2 separate regions of the Homo sapiens genome follow, and region 2 is linked to region 1. The links are contacts of gene promoters, found by promoter capture Hi-C in human tissues and cell types (Jung and others, 2019). All regions are on one chromosome and are shown on one strand. Each heading gives the region's core, a stretch centred on a gene start or on the middle of the fragment in contact. The rest is flanking DNA. Distances are from core to core; before and after follow the strand shown. Region 1 holds the start of IGDCC3 (immunoglobulin superfamily DCC subclass member 3). Region 2 overlaps LOC105370866 (a long non-coding RNA gene).

The links. The method cuts DNA at HindIII sites, captures the fragments that hold promoters and counts their contacts. A contact is called where the count stands out against the background at its distance.
Region 2: a fragment that was not itself captured here is called in contact with the fragment with the promoter of IGDCC3 in region 1 in 1 of the 25 tissues and cell types used here (dorsolateral prefrontal cortex).

What each region holds. Positions count from the first base shown.
Region 1 is chr15:65,376,117-65,382,595 of GRCh38, reverse strand. It overlaps IGDCC3 (immunoglobulin superfamily DCC subclass member 3), which reads left to right and starts at 4,594. Exons shown (of 14, transcript NM_004884.4): 1 at 4,594-4,910. The coding sequence starts at 4,808. IGDCC4 (immunoglobulin superfamily DCC subclass member 4) reads left to right here. Exons shown (of 20, transcript NM_020962.3): 20 at 1-1,112. The HindIII fragment of the contact is 8,726 bases long and covers 2,042-6,479 here.
Region 2 is chr15:65,837,579-65,843,800 of GRCh38, reverse strand. The region is part of intron 1 of LOC105370866 (a long non-coding RNA gene); the gene reads right to left. It also overlaps the pseudogene LOC124903586. Among named protein-coding and RNA genes, the nearest start is that of TRQ-CTG1-4, 28 kb to the left of the region's middle. The HindIII fragment of the contact is 5,146 bases long and covers 1,744-6,222 here.

The DNA of each region.
Region 1 (6,479 bases), core at 3,345-5,844:
TTCTATTTTCTGTGTAGTGAAAACAATGTCATTTATTTGGTTTTTCACCTCAGCCCTCTCATAGGAGCATAGAATGTTAGGGTCTTTACTCCCTAATGATGTCTGATTGGCACATCAAGAGTTAACTCTGCCTTCTGGGCCAAATTCGAAATAACCAGTCCATTTTTCCTTTTTTTTTTTTTTTTTTTTAAATGGTGGAATGTCTCTCAGCACAGTTGCGGCTTCCTCAAACCCTGAAAGCATCTGTGTTTATTATACTCGGGTGTCACTCACTGTTGATGTCTGCACCTACGTTTCCACCTCCTCCCCCTCCTTCAGCCAGCCTATGATAACACTAAAGATTATTAATGTTGGTTTTGTATCTCGTTAAAGACAGAATTGTCACTTGTAGTATTTCTGTAGCATTCAGCGCTGCTGTGGCTAACACCACTGTGTATGTTTCATCATTGCTCTGAAGGTCAAAAGCCTCATTTTATTTTGCTGGTTTGATTTTTTTTTTTTAAAGAAGAAAAAAAAACTGCCCTGAATTAAATGGCTGTTTTAACAGTAGGCTCTTAGCATTATACCACATAGTCATTTTTCATGTTCTTGTTTAACAGGCACTGAGGTTCTGGTTTAAATTAAATAGCTGCAAATGAGACAATTTATAACCCATTAGGTTGGGTGGAAAATTGTTTCTCAAAAGCAAATAAGTAATAAATCTGGTATCTGCCTATAACTCACAGTTGATAAGAAAGTGGCCATTTCTCACTAGCACTATATATGATTTGGGCTCTGGGTAATTTGGAAGTGTTAGGTTTGTGTCTTTGTAGCAGTATTTTTATTAGAAAAGAATCTATTGGCCTTTTACAGGGTATTAATCCCTTTGTCACCTACCATTGATGCCTTAAGTTTTCTGAGTCTCAATTAAAAATCTTCCTTTTCTTGATGCATGACAAGTGTAATCAGTACTTGCTCATTTATTTGTCTGTATTTAGTTTATGCTGTACTATTTAATTATCCTTCCAGCGTTTTTTTTTTCTCCTTACAAATATGATACTCTTTAGTGTTAAGCTAAGGCATTGATTCATGTATCTGTCCTTATAATGAATTAATAAACTATTTTCCAGAAATGTGGAATTCTCTTTTGGAACCATTGACCATGACTAGAATTTCCTCAGCCTTTGTGCCCTAGGGATTTTATTTCTTACTGTGATGGGAAATGATGTTGTTGTTGTTTTTGAGATGGGATCTCTCTGTCGCCCAGGCTGGAGTGCAGTGGCACAATCACAGCTCACTGCAGACTCAACTTCCTGGGTTCAAGCAGTCTTGTCACTGTAGCCTCCCTAGTAGCTGGGACTACAGGCACATGCCACCATGCCTGGCTAATATTAAAAAAAATTTTTGTTATAGAGATGTGGTCTCGTTATCTTACCCAGACTGGTCTCGAACTCCTGGGCTAAAACCATCCTCCTGCCCCAGCTTCGAAAAGTGCTCGATTACAAGCATGAGCCACTGCCTCTTGGCCCAAAATAGTGTTTTGTTTGTTTGTTTGTTTGTTTGTTTGTTTTTTCAGACTAATCTCACTTTGTCGCCTAGGCTGGAGTGCAGTGGCATGATCTCGGCTCACTGCAACCTCTGCCTCCCGGGTTCAAGTGATTCTCCTGCCTCAGCCCCCCGAATAGCTGGGATTACAGGCATGCACCACCACACCCGGCTAATTTTTGTATTTTTAGTAGAGACGGGGTTTCACCATGTTAGCCAGGCTGGTCTCAAACTCCTGACCTCAGGTAATCTGCCCGCCTTGGCCTCCCAAAGTGCTGGAATTACAGGCATAAGCCCCTGCGCCCGGCTCAAAATGGTGGTTTTTGAGGGTAAAAAGCAGGTGGTCATGGGAAAGAACTAAACCATCTTCCTCCCTCAACAGGCACTTAGGAAAAAGACGTAAACTTAGGAAAGATGTGTCCTTTGATGGCACTTCCTTAGACTCTCTGGGGATCTCTTTCCATCTGGGCACACATTTCTCTGAACTTTTTTGGGTGCAGGAAAGAGGGAACAACTCCAGAGATTTGGGCTCCACAACTATTCTCCTGTATAACTCTGGTCACCAAAATTACTCATGGCCACACAATCACACACACGTGCACTGTGTGTACAAGCTCAGAGACCCGCACATGCATACTTTGCCTTCACAAACACCCTTGTGTCTGTCCGTTAATGCAAATGTGCACACAGTCTCACACACAAAACTCCACACTCACACCCCACACACATCTTGGCATCACAGTTGGCAGCTGCTGTCTGCTAAGATCTTTACAGAGCCCGGAACATGCTTTCTATTGGAGGGAATCAAGAGCTAGAGGCTGCTTTGCTCAGGACCACCCCCAAAGTGGTGGGCCAGACCCAGAGTTAATTGACAGATCAGACAGAGAGATACTGCACATTTTGCACTCGGCAGAATAGCCATTATTTGCATATCACTCTCAGACCAAGGGTTGTGATAAAGAAGAATTAAACACTTGTCAAAATGAATTTAAAATGACAGCAATTCAAGAGACCAATTTGACCTCTTCAGAGTCCAGGACAAGCCAAGAAGGGGTTGTTGAGAATTCAAGCCCTGCAGGAGGGAGTTCCAGGATTTTAGGCCCAGGGAGGGCCCTTCCCCTCCCTTTCCTAAGGCCAGTAGACCACCACTCCCACCCTTTCTCACAATGAAATCCAATAGGGCTTTGGCACATTGGAGTCCTCCACCTAGAATTTTTCCATTGCTTCCCGCTGTTCACATGCCTCATGTCCTGCTTCTCAGGCTCATCTTCCAGTAGCTGCCCTAGAGTGAACAGTCCTGAGCTATGCCAACCTCATCATTAGTAAACCTGTCCATCTACAGGCACTCTGATTTCTGGAGGCCTGTACTTCCTTACTTATCCGTATCAAAGTTAGTTTTTTGTTTGTTTGTTTGTTTCGAGACGGAGTCTTGCTCTGTCGCCCAGGCTGGAGTGCAATGGTGCAATCTCAGCTCACTGCAACGTTTGCCTCCCGGGTTCAAGCTATTTTCCTGCCTCAGCCTCCCGAGTAGCTGGGATTACAGGCGCCTGCCACCACGCCCGGCTAATTTTTTTGTATTTTTAGTAGAGATGGTGTTTCATCACATTGGTCAGGCTGGTCTCGAACTCCTGACATCAGGTAATCCACCCGCCTCAGCTTCCCAAAGTGCTGGGATTACAGGCGTGAGCCACCGTTAGTTTCGTACATGGTCCCAAAGTTCCAGAGTTGGTATCAAAAGAAAGACTTAGTTTTTCCTCTGCCATCCCAGTCCAGTGCCAAAGGAGCAAATAGCTACATTAGGCCAACTTTTATTATTTATTTATTTATTGAGACAGGGTCTGTGTTGCCCAGGCTGGAATACAGTGGGACTCCAGGCATGCACCGCCATGCTTGGCTAATGTTTGTATTTTTTGTAGAGACAGGTTTTCACCATGTTGCCCAGGCTGGTTTTGAACTCCTGGGTTCAAGTGATCTGCCCACCTCGGCCTCCCAAAGTGCTGGGATTACAGGTGTGAGCCACTAAGCCTAGCCTGCCAGCTTTAATTCTCTAGCTCCTAGAACTTAGTAGCTGCTCAATAATTTTGATGGACTAGTCCATCATGCTGGACTCAACAGAAGACCATTTAATAGAGAGTGGCTGAGATTCAAGATCTCTGAGGGCTAGTATGGGTATGTCTCTGCTAAAAGACATGCTTATCTTCTGTAACATTCTCACGTGGGACCTCTGTTGTCTCCTTATATGTTCTCTGACATGAACGATTGAGGGCCTTCTTTGTGGCACAGAAACGTTACTGGGAATTTTAACTTTCTATGTGCTTTTCCAGTTACCAGGTCATTTGTCAGGACCTCTGCGGTTTAAAGGTCTCTAGGGATGAACAGGAGAGATAAGATTATTTTCATCTTTCAGATGAGCTCAGTGAGAGTGACTGGGCTAGGCAGCAGGCAGAACCCAGGTCGGAAGCCAGGCCCCTTTAGAGCTCTCATTGTCCTGCTGCTGGGTCTGCTCTCTCCAGGCAATCCTCCCCAGCGGAGCGCCAGGACTCCTCGGTCCAGAGAAGCCAAGCTTGCAGCTACAGGATCTATCCTTTGAGTGGAAGGACCAGAAATCCATGGAAAACTGAATCTTTGACAACTTTACGCAGCTTTTTAGAGAATTATCTCTAAAATATGGACTTGGAGGAGGGCGCAGCAGAAAGAGTGGGTCAGAGCAAATCCCGCAGCTGTGTGTCTTTCCGCAGCCCGGACCCACTCCCCAGTCCGCTGGTGTCCACTTCCTCAGCCCCCCAGGTCCCCGGCTGGCCCGCGGGGAGGGGATACCCGGCTGCAGCCCGGGACGGCGCCGGCCGCTCCAGCCACAGTTCAAAGCGCAGGGGGCGCGTCCGCCGCGCAGCCGGGAATGTCCGGCCGCTTAAAGCGCTCGCCGGCTCTTTTGTTCCCCAGACCGGGCCTCCGGGGAGAGGGGGCTGGGGGAGGGGACCGGGAGCAGAGAGGAGGGGGGCGGCGGGCTGGGGAGGAGGGCGGGGCGGCCGCGAGCGGTGCGAGTGTGGAGCGCGCACCCCGGGCGAGGCTGACAGATCGCCCGGGTGGGTGCAAGATGGCGCAAGCGGCGCTCCCCCTGCGCCCCCCGCGCTGCTGAGCAGGCATGCGGCCCCAGTCCCCCACCGCCTGGGCTCGGCCCCGGCCGGAGCCCCAGCCCCGGCCCCGGCGCCGGCCCCGCGGGACGCTGTGAGCCGCGAGAGGCCCGGGAGCCGCGCGTCGCCGAGCCGAGCTGACCGAGAGCCCCATGGCTGTGCAGCGCGCCGCGTCTCCGCGCCGCCCGCCCGCCCCGCTCTGGCCCCGGCTCCTGCTGCCGCTGCTGTTGCTGCTGCTGCCCGCGCCGAGCGAGGGTGAGTGAAAGCGCCCCGGACCGGGCGGTTGCGGACGGAGCCAGGGGAAGGGCGAGCAGGGAGGGAGCGGGCGCGAGGGGCGGACCCGGGGAGAGCGGCGCGGACCTGAGGGCGGACCCCGCGCGGGGGGGACCCTGCGGATCCGGACGGGGAGAGGGTACCAAGGCCGGACTGCTGGGGGCCCTAGGGGCGTGTTGAGGACGGAACCCCCCGGAGGAAGACTGGGGCAGGACCCGGAGCCCAGACTGAGGAGCAAGGAGTGCAGCGAAGCGGGAGCAAGCGGGGCGGGCTGGCGTGGAGACCGAGGGAAACGAGCCAGGGGAGACCGCAAGGCTAAGCGCTGACCGAGGCGGACGAGCTGGGGTGCTGGGTGCCCGGCCGTGGACATAGCCCGAGGCAGCCAAGACAGGGGACAGCAGCCTGGGGAGCGGAGACCGGGACTCTGACGGCTGCACTGGGCGGAGATGGCACGACCTGCATTTGGAGCTGGTACTGGGCTGAGGAGTGCGCGGGAGAGACAGGAGAAGACGAGGGAGATTCCTGGAGGGCGGCGCGTGGCTAGGGAGCGACCCGGGACAGAGCCCGTGAGCCAAGAAGGAGAGGAGAAGCCACCGAAAGCGAGAGCGAGCGAGCCGCGGGGATGCTCACGTGCCCCTGCCCTTCCCCGAAGTGTGCACACGCGGAGACCTTGCCCTGGCTCTCGCGGTCCGCCGGTTCTGCTGCCTGGAGCTCGGCTCTGCTGCCTGGAGCTCGGTCACCACCACTCTGTTCCCTTTAGTGGCTGCAATGGTCCCATCTCCCGGGAGGAGAGTGCAAATCTAGTCCCTTAACCCTCCCACCTCAAGTTCCCCACAGACACTCATCTGGGCTATTCTCTCTCCACTCCTCTCCCAAGAAGTAGAAGCTCGCGTCCGCATCAAGGAAAAACTTTATTCCCGACAGCTATACCAGGGTTGGATTCGGGGCTAAGACGGGTGAACTCACGACATGGGGAGGATGCGCAGGGGTTTGAATAAGTGCGATCCTAAAAAGTCTTAAAACATTACATCTTCCTGGGCCGGGGACGGGGGGAGGGGGGCGCGGGGGGCGCTGGGCGGGGAATGCCTATAACCCCAACGCCCCTCCTTTCTCCCCACCCATTTCCCCATCTCCCTCAGCCAGGGAGGGCCCTAGTCTGCTGGGGAGGGGCCAGCTCCAGGATCGCTAGTTATCTGGAAATGTGAGGAGGGGTCTGTGACTGCCATTTCAGACCAGGTGGGTTCATTCCTCCTCGAGTGGAGTTGTAACTGGTCTGGTAAGTTGTTTGCTGGAGAAGTTGGTGACTTGGCATCATGCCTGGGATTGGAGTGCTTGTCCCTCCAGCCGGGCTTCTGATTCTCTGATTGGCCTTAACCCCATCTATTCTTTGGCCTCCTTCTTTTCCTGCTCATTTCTCTTCTGCAGGAGCAGAGAGGTTGGCTGGAAGTAAAGGTTCTAGGAGCACCCTCTTCCTTGGTTTTGGGAAACCATAGTTGGTGTTTGCTACTCTTCATCTCTCCCTATGACAAAGGCAAAAGGACCAACACCCAG
Region 2 (6,222 bases), core at 3,067-5,566, 460 kb before region 1:
TCACTGCAAGCTCCGCTTCCCGGGTTCACGCCATTCTCCTGCCTCAGCCTCCCGAGTAGCTGGGACTACAGGCACCCGCCACCGCGCCCGGCTAATTTTTTGTATTTTTAGTAGAGACGGGGTTTCACCTTGTTAGCCAGGATGGTCTCGATCTCCTGACCTCATGATCCACCCGCCTCGGCCTCCCAAAGTGCTGGGATTACAGGCGTGAGCCACCGCGCCCGGCCTATTTTATTTTTTAAAAGGGAATTTTTTGCATCATGAATTTGTGTGTCATCCTTGCACAGGGACCACGCTAATCTTTTGTATTGTTCTACGCTAATCTTTTGTATTGTTCTAATTTTAGTATATGTGCTGCCAAAGTTAGCCCGAGTTTGCTTTTTACAGATTCTTGCTGAAAGAGCTATTCAAGGATATGTTCAGAAAGAAAGAAATTGAACTCTGAAGAAAAAAGTGGGAGCCGAGTGCAACTGTGAGCAAAGGAGCTAGTAAACATATTGGCAAATCTGCTAATAGCTTAAAGAAAGTATCACTAGCTGATGATATCTTAGGAATTAAAATTAAAAAAAAGAGAAGAAAATATCCTGACAGATGCACACAGTTGTAAAATCATCCTATGATGCAAAAAGTTACTTTAAGCAATATTTCATAAATATAAATTCTTTCAACAAGGAGACAAGTGCTAAATAGCATCCAATTAAAAGTGTATTCTGGGCCAGGCGTGGTGGCTCATGCCTGTAATTCCAGCACTTTGGGAGGCTGAGGTGGGCAGATCACCTGAGGTCAGGAGTTCGAGACTAGCCCGGCCAACATGGTGAAACCCCGTCCCTACTAAAAATACAAAAATTAGCTGGGTGTGGTGATACGAACCTGTAATCCCAGCTGCTCCGGAGGCTGAGGCAGAAGAATCACTTGAACCAGGGAGGCAGAGGTTGCAGTGAGCCAAGATCGTGCCACTGCACTCCAGCTTGGGCAACAGGGCAACACTCCACCTCAAAAAAAAAAAAAAAAAGAAAAAAAAAGTATATTCTTTGGCAAAAGCCTGAAGAATGTTATTTGATGTTTTAGATTGTCCTGGTTTTTATTGCTTTATCCTGCTTTTTTTAATGTGGGCCAGATGCAGTTGGTCATGCCTGTAATCCCAGCACTTTGGGAGGATGAGGCAAGAGGATCCTTTGAGGCCAGGAGTTTGAGACCAGCCTGGGAAACATAGGGAGACCTGAGCTCTACAGAAAATTAAAAAATTAGCCAGGTGTGGTAGTGCATCCCTGTAGTCCCAGCTATTTAAGAGGGTGATGTGGGAGGATCACTTGTGCCTGGGAGGTTGAGGCTGCAATGAACTGTGACTGTACCATTGCACTCCAGCCTGGGCAACAGAGTGAGACCCTGTCTCAAATAAATAACTAAATAAACAAGTAGGCTGAGTGCGGTGGCTCACGCCTGTAATCTCAGCACTCTGGGAGGCCAAGCCAGGTGGATCACCTGAGGTCAGGAGTCAAGACCAGCCTGGTCAACATGGTGAAACCCCACCTCTACTAAAAAATACAAAAATTAGTCGGGTGTGGTGGCATGCACCTGTAGTCCCAGCTACTTGGGAGGCTGAGGCAGGAGAATCGCTTGAACCAAGGAGGCAGAGGTTGCAGTCAGCCGAGATCATGACACTGCACTCCAGCCAGGGTGACAGAGCAAGACTCCGTCTCAAAAACAAACAAACAAACAGACAAACAAACAAACAAGTAAATAAAATGTGGCAATCAGTCAAAGGACAGTAGCTAAGAACACCCACCAAGTATTGAGCACAAAGACAAATCACACAAGCTCTTTTACTCAGTTTTCTTGTCACTAATGTGGGGGATTAGAGACATTTTAACAGGATTGCCATGAGGACTGAATGGAATTATCCATGTGAAAGTGCAGTCTGTAGCACAGTAGCCTGGATTGATTTAAAAAACAGTGTATTTGGGATGTCACTGATTATGGGGGTGGAAGTGAGGGAGGGACATTGAATAATTCTAAACAGAAATAATCATGGCTGCTCAGTAGTGCAAGGGAGAGCTACTTGAGCTCAGACCCCAGCAGGGTATGATTTTTCTTTCCAAAGGGATTTTCCTTTCTTTTTCTTTTTGTCTTTTTTTGAGGCAGGGTTTTACTTTGTCACCCAGGCTGGAGTACAGTGGCGCAATCTCGGCTCAATGTAGCCTCAACTTCCTGGGCTCCAATGATCCGCCCACCTCAGCCTCTCAAGTAGCTGGAACCACAGGCACACATCAACGTGCCAGCTAATTTTTTGCATTTTTTTTTTGAGAAGGAGTCTCGGTCTGTCGCCCAGGCTGGACTGCAGTGGCACAATCTCGGCTCATTGCAACGTCTGCTTCCCAGATTCAAGCGATTCTCATGGCTGCCTCCTGAGTGCTGCCTCCCAGACTGCTGGGATTACAAGCATGAGCCATCATGCCCTGCAGAAAGGAATTTTTCTTTATTTTTTTTAGAGACAAGGTCTCACTCTGATGCCCAGGCTGGACTCAAACTCCTGGGCTCCAGGATCCTCCCACCTCATCTTCTTGCGCTCAGCCAAAGGAAGTTGAGAAGTACACGAAGCACTCAGATTAGATGACCCAAGCCTAGAGATATGAGCAAGTTGTAGGAAGGAAGGAAAACATATTTTCATCCACCTCATAGGGTTGTTACGAGGACACAGTAAACATACAGTTAATGTTAGCTATTGTTATTATTAGAATGGAGCAAATATTGCATTGTTTGAGAAAAACAAAACTAAGTATATATGAAAGGCACAAATGTCCACTTACAGAACTTTAAAAAATCTTTTTTTTTATGTTTTGAGACACAGTCTCACTCTGTCACCCAGGCTGGAGTACAGTGGCATGATCTTGGCTCACTGCAACCTCCGCCTCCCAGGGTTCAAGCAATTCTTATGCCTCAGCCTCTCAAGTAGCTGGGATTACAGGCACATGCCACCATGCCCGGCTAATTTTTTGTATTTTTAGTAGAGACGGGGTTTCACCATGTTGGCCAGGCTGGTCTCGAACTCCTGACCTCAAAGTGATCTACCCAGCTTGGCCTCCCGAAGTGCTGGGATTACAGGCGACAGCCACCACGCCTGGCCTAGAACTTTTTTAAAGCAGATAAAATCCTCTCAAAATTACCGGAAGAAAAAAAAATCTGAAGAACATATACTTTACTGAAAGACAGAAAACAATATATGCCAAGCAAGCATAACAATAGAAAACAAAACAGAAAGACAGAATGAGAGTCACATCTAATAATTAAAATTATGTGAATGAAATAAACTGTTATTGAAAGAAATATATTTAAATTAGTCCAAAAACAGAATCAGACTACAAGACCCATATCTAAAATCAGAAATCGATAAAACTCAATGTTGTTGACAGTGGGGCAAACATGTCCTTAAATCCAGTGTTGGTAGGAGTAAAATTTCCAGAAGACAGTCAGGTAACTGTATCATAAAATGGACACACCATTGTATTGAACTTGTCCACTTCTAGAAATTACCCTGAGGAGAAAATTGCACAAAAGCAGAACACAGGATGTTTTTCACGTGTAGTTTACAATATTAAACAATGCAAACAACCGAAATGGCCAACAACAGGAGAAAGGTTGCATAAATCATGGTTTGTAAATATTACAAATAGCTGTTGATCATTAACAATCGTGGTGTTAGTCTACGGTTATTGACTTGGAAATCTACCCATTGCATATTCTCAGTAAATGTAGCAATTACAGAATAATATATAAATTATCATCTCACATATGTGAAACTATATTCATATACCTCTAGGTATATATACTGCATAAAGATGTCTAAAGGATATTCACCAAAATTGGTATGGATGCTATGGGCGGTGGGATTTTGGCGGTGACTTTTATTTCCTTCTTATGTTGGGTAAAATCACTGGTCATGAGAAACCCATTTTTCTGTATGTGTCTAAAAATGCATAAGCCTTTAAAATGACTTGGTCAGCCTCCCAAGATCCCATATGTCTGTGTGCTTCGTTCCTGTCATTCTCTTAAAGATAAGCTTTAAGGAGGGGAACATGACTGGTAGCTATCAGGAAAGCCATGCCCTGACTGGCTTCCTGCTCAAAGTGACCAACATGGGCTAGTTACGTAGATCCAGGATTGTGTCATCTCTAGGGCAGGATTGAAAGCCACTTTTAGGACCAGAATTGAAGAGTTACTGAATATAGGCCCTTCTCTGTTTATATATGTATGTACGTTTGTTTGTTTGTTTGTTTGTTTGTTAATCTGCCAACCCCATTCCCAGAACACCTGGTTTGGGATGATGGCATTCCTTCCTTTTTTTTTTTTTTGAGATGAAATCTTGCTCTGTGGTCCAGGCTGGAGTGCAGTGGCGCAATCTCAGCTCACTGCAACCTCTGCCTCCCGGTTCAAGCAGTTCTCCTGTCTCAGCCTCCCAAGTAGTTGGGATTACAGGCACGCACCACCACATCCGGCTAATTTTTGTATTTTTAGTGGAGATGGGGTTTCACCATATTGGTCGGACTAGTCTCGAACTCCCAACCTCAGGTGATCCACCTGCGTTGGCCTCCCAAAGTGCTGGGATTACAGGTGTGAGCCACCGCATCCGATCATGTATGTATGTACTTATTTATATAAAATTTGTCCAGCTGGGTGCGGTGGCTCATGCCTGTAATCCCAGCACTTTGGGAGCCTGAGGTGGGCAGATCATGAGGTCAGGAGTTCGAGACCAGCCTGACCAACATGGTGAAACCCCATCTCTACTAAAAATACAAGGCCAAGCATGTGGCTCACCTCTGTAATCCTAGCACTTTGGGAGGCTGAGGCGGGAGGATCACCTGAGGTTGAGAGTTCGAGACCACCCTGACCAACGTGGAGTAACCCTGTCTCTACTAAAAATACAGAATTAGCTAGGCCTGGTGGCGCATGCCTGTAATCCCAGCTACTAGGGAGGCTAAGGCAGGAGAATCGCTTGAAACTGGGAGGCGGAGGTTGCAGTGAGCCGAAGTTGCACCACTGCACTCCAGCCTGGGCAACAAGAGCAAAACTCTGTCTCAAAAACAAAAAACAAAAACAAAAATTACCCAGGCTTGGTGGTGCGTGCCTGTAATCCCAGCTACTCAGGAGGCTGAGACAGGAGAATTGCTTGAACCCAGGAGGCGGAGGTTGCAGTGAGCCGAGATCGTGGCACTGCACTCCAGCCTAGGCCACAGAGCGAGACTCCATCTCAAAAAAAAAAAAAAAAAAATTTGCAAAGCTTCCATAATGTCTATGAAAGAGCAAGTATGAAAATTTCCCAGCTGGGTGCGGTGGCTCACGCCTGTAATCCCAACACTTTGGGAGACTGAGGCAGGCTGATCACAAGGTCAGGAGTTCAAAACCAGCCTGGCCAACACAGTGAAACCCCGTCTCTACTAAAAATACAAAAAAATTAGCTGGGCGTGGTGGCATGTGCCTGTAGTCCCAGCTACTTGGGAGGCTGAGGCAGGAGAATCGCTTAAACCCGGGAGGTGGAGGTTGCAGTGAGCTGAGATCGCACCACTGCACTCCAGCTTGGGCAACAGAGTGAGACTTAGTCTCAAAAAAAAAAAAAAAAAAAGAGGAAAAAAAAGAAAATTTCCCCAAATTAGAAGGCTACAGTGACTAATTTCTGGGACTTTCTGGGGCTGCTCTGTGAATTGGGCAGCTGCACTGGGTGGCTGGCTGGCTGCTGAGAGTTCTTGCAGTACTGGCCCTGTTTGCAGCAGTGAGACCAAGTGAACCATGGAGGAGCCTCCTAATTCTTTCATTTATTGTTTGCCTTTTTTTTTTTTTGTAAAGCATCAATTGCTTTTGTAAAAACAAAGCTATTTTTTAAAGGACAGAATGGTCAACAGTGTCTGAGTATGATAAGGACTGAGTTGGGTCCAGTGGACTGAGCAACAGGGAAGTAGTGAGTGACCTAGTCAAGAATAGTATCTGTGTGGTGGTGGTGGTGGGGGTGGCTTTAAGAGAGTGAGGGAAGTGAGGAAGTGGAGAGAGAGAGAGTGAGTTTGGACAATTATTTCTGGAAGTCTGGCCGAGAAAAGAAGGCATGAGGTACAGCAAGGGGTGCCTAAAGGGAGGAAGGGGGAGGCAGAAAGAGGTACTAATTTTGTTTGTTTGCTTTGTTTGTATTTGTTTTTACTATTGAAAAGGAGCTAGTAGATAAGTGAATGATTCAGC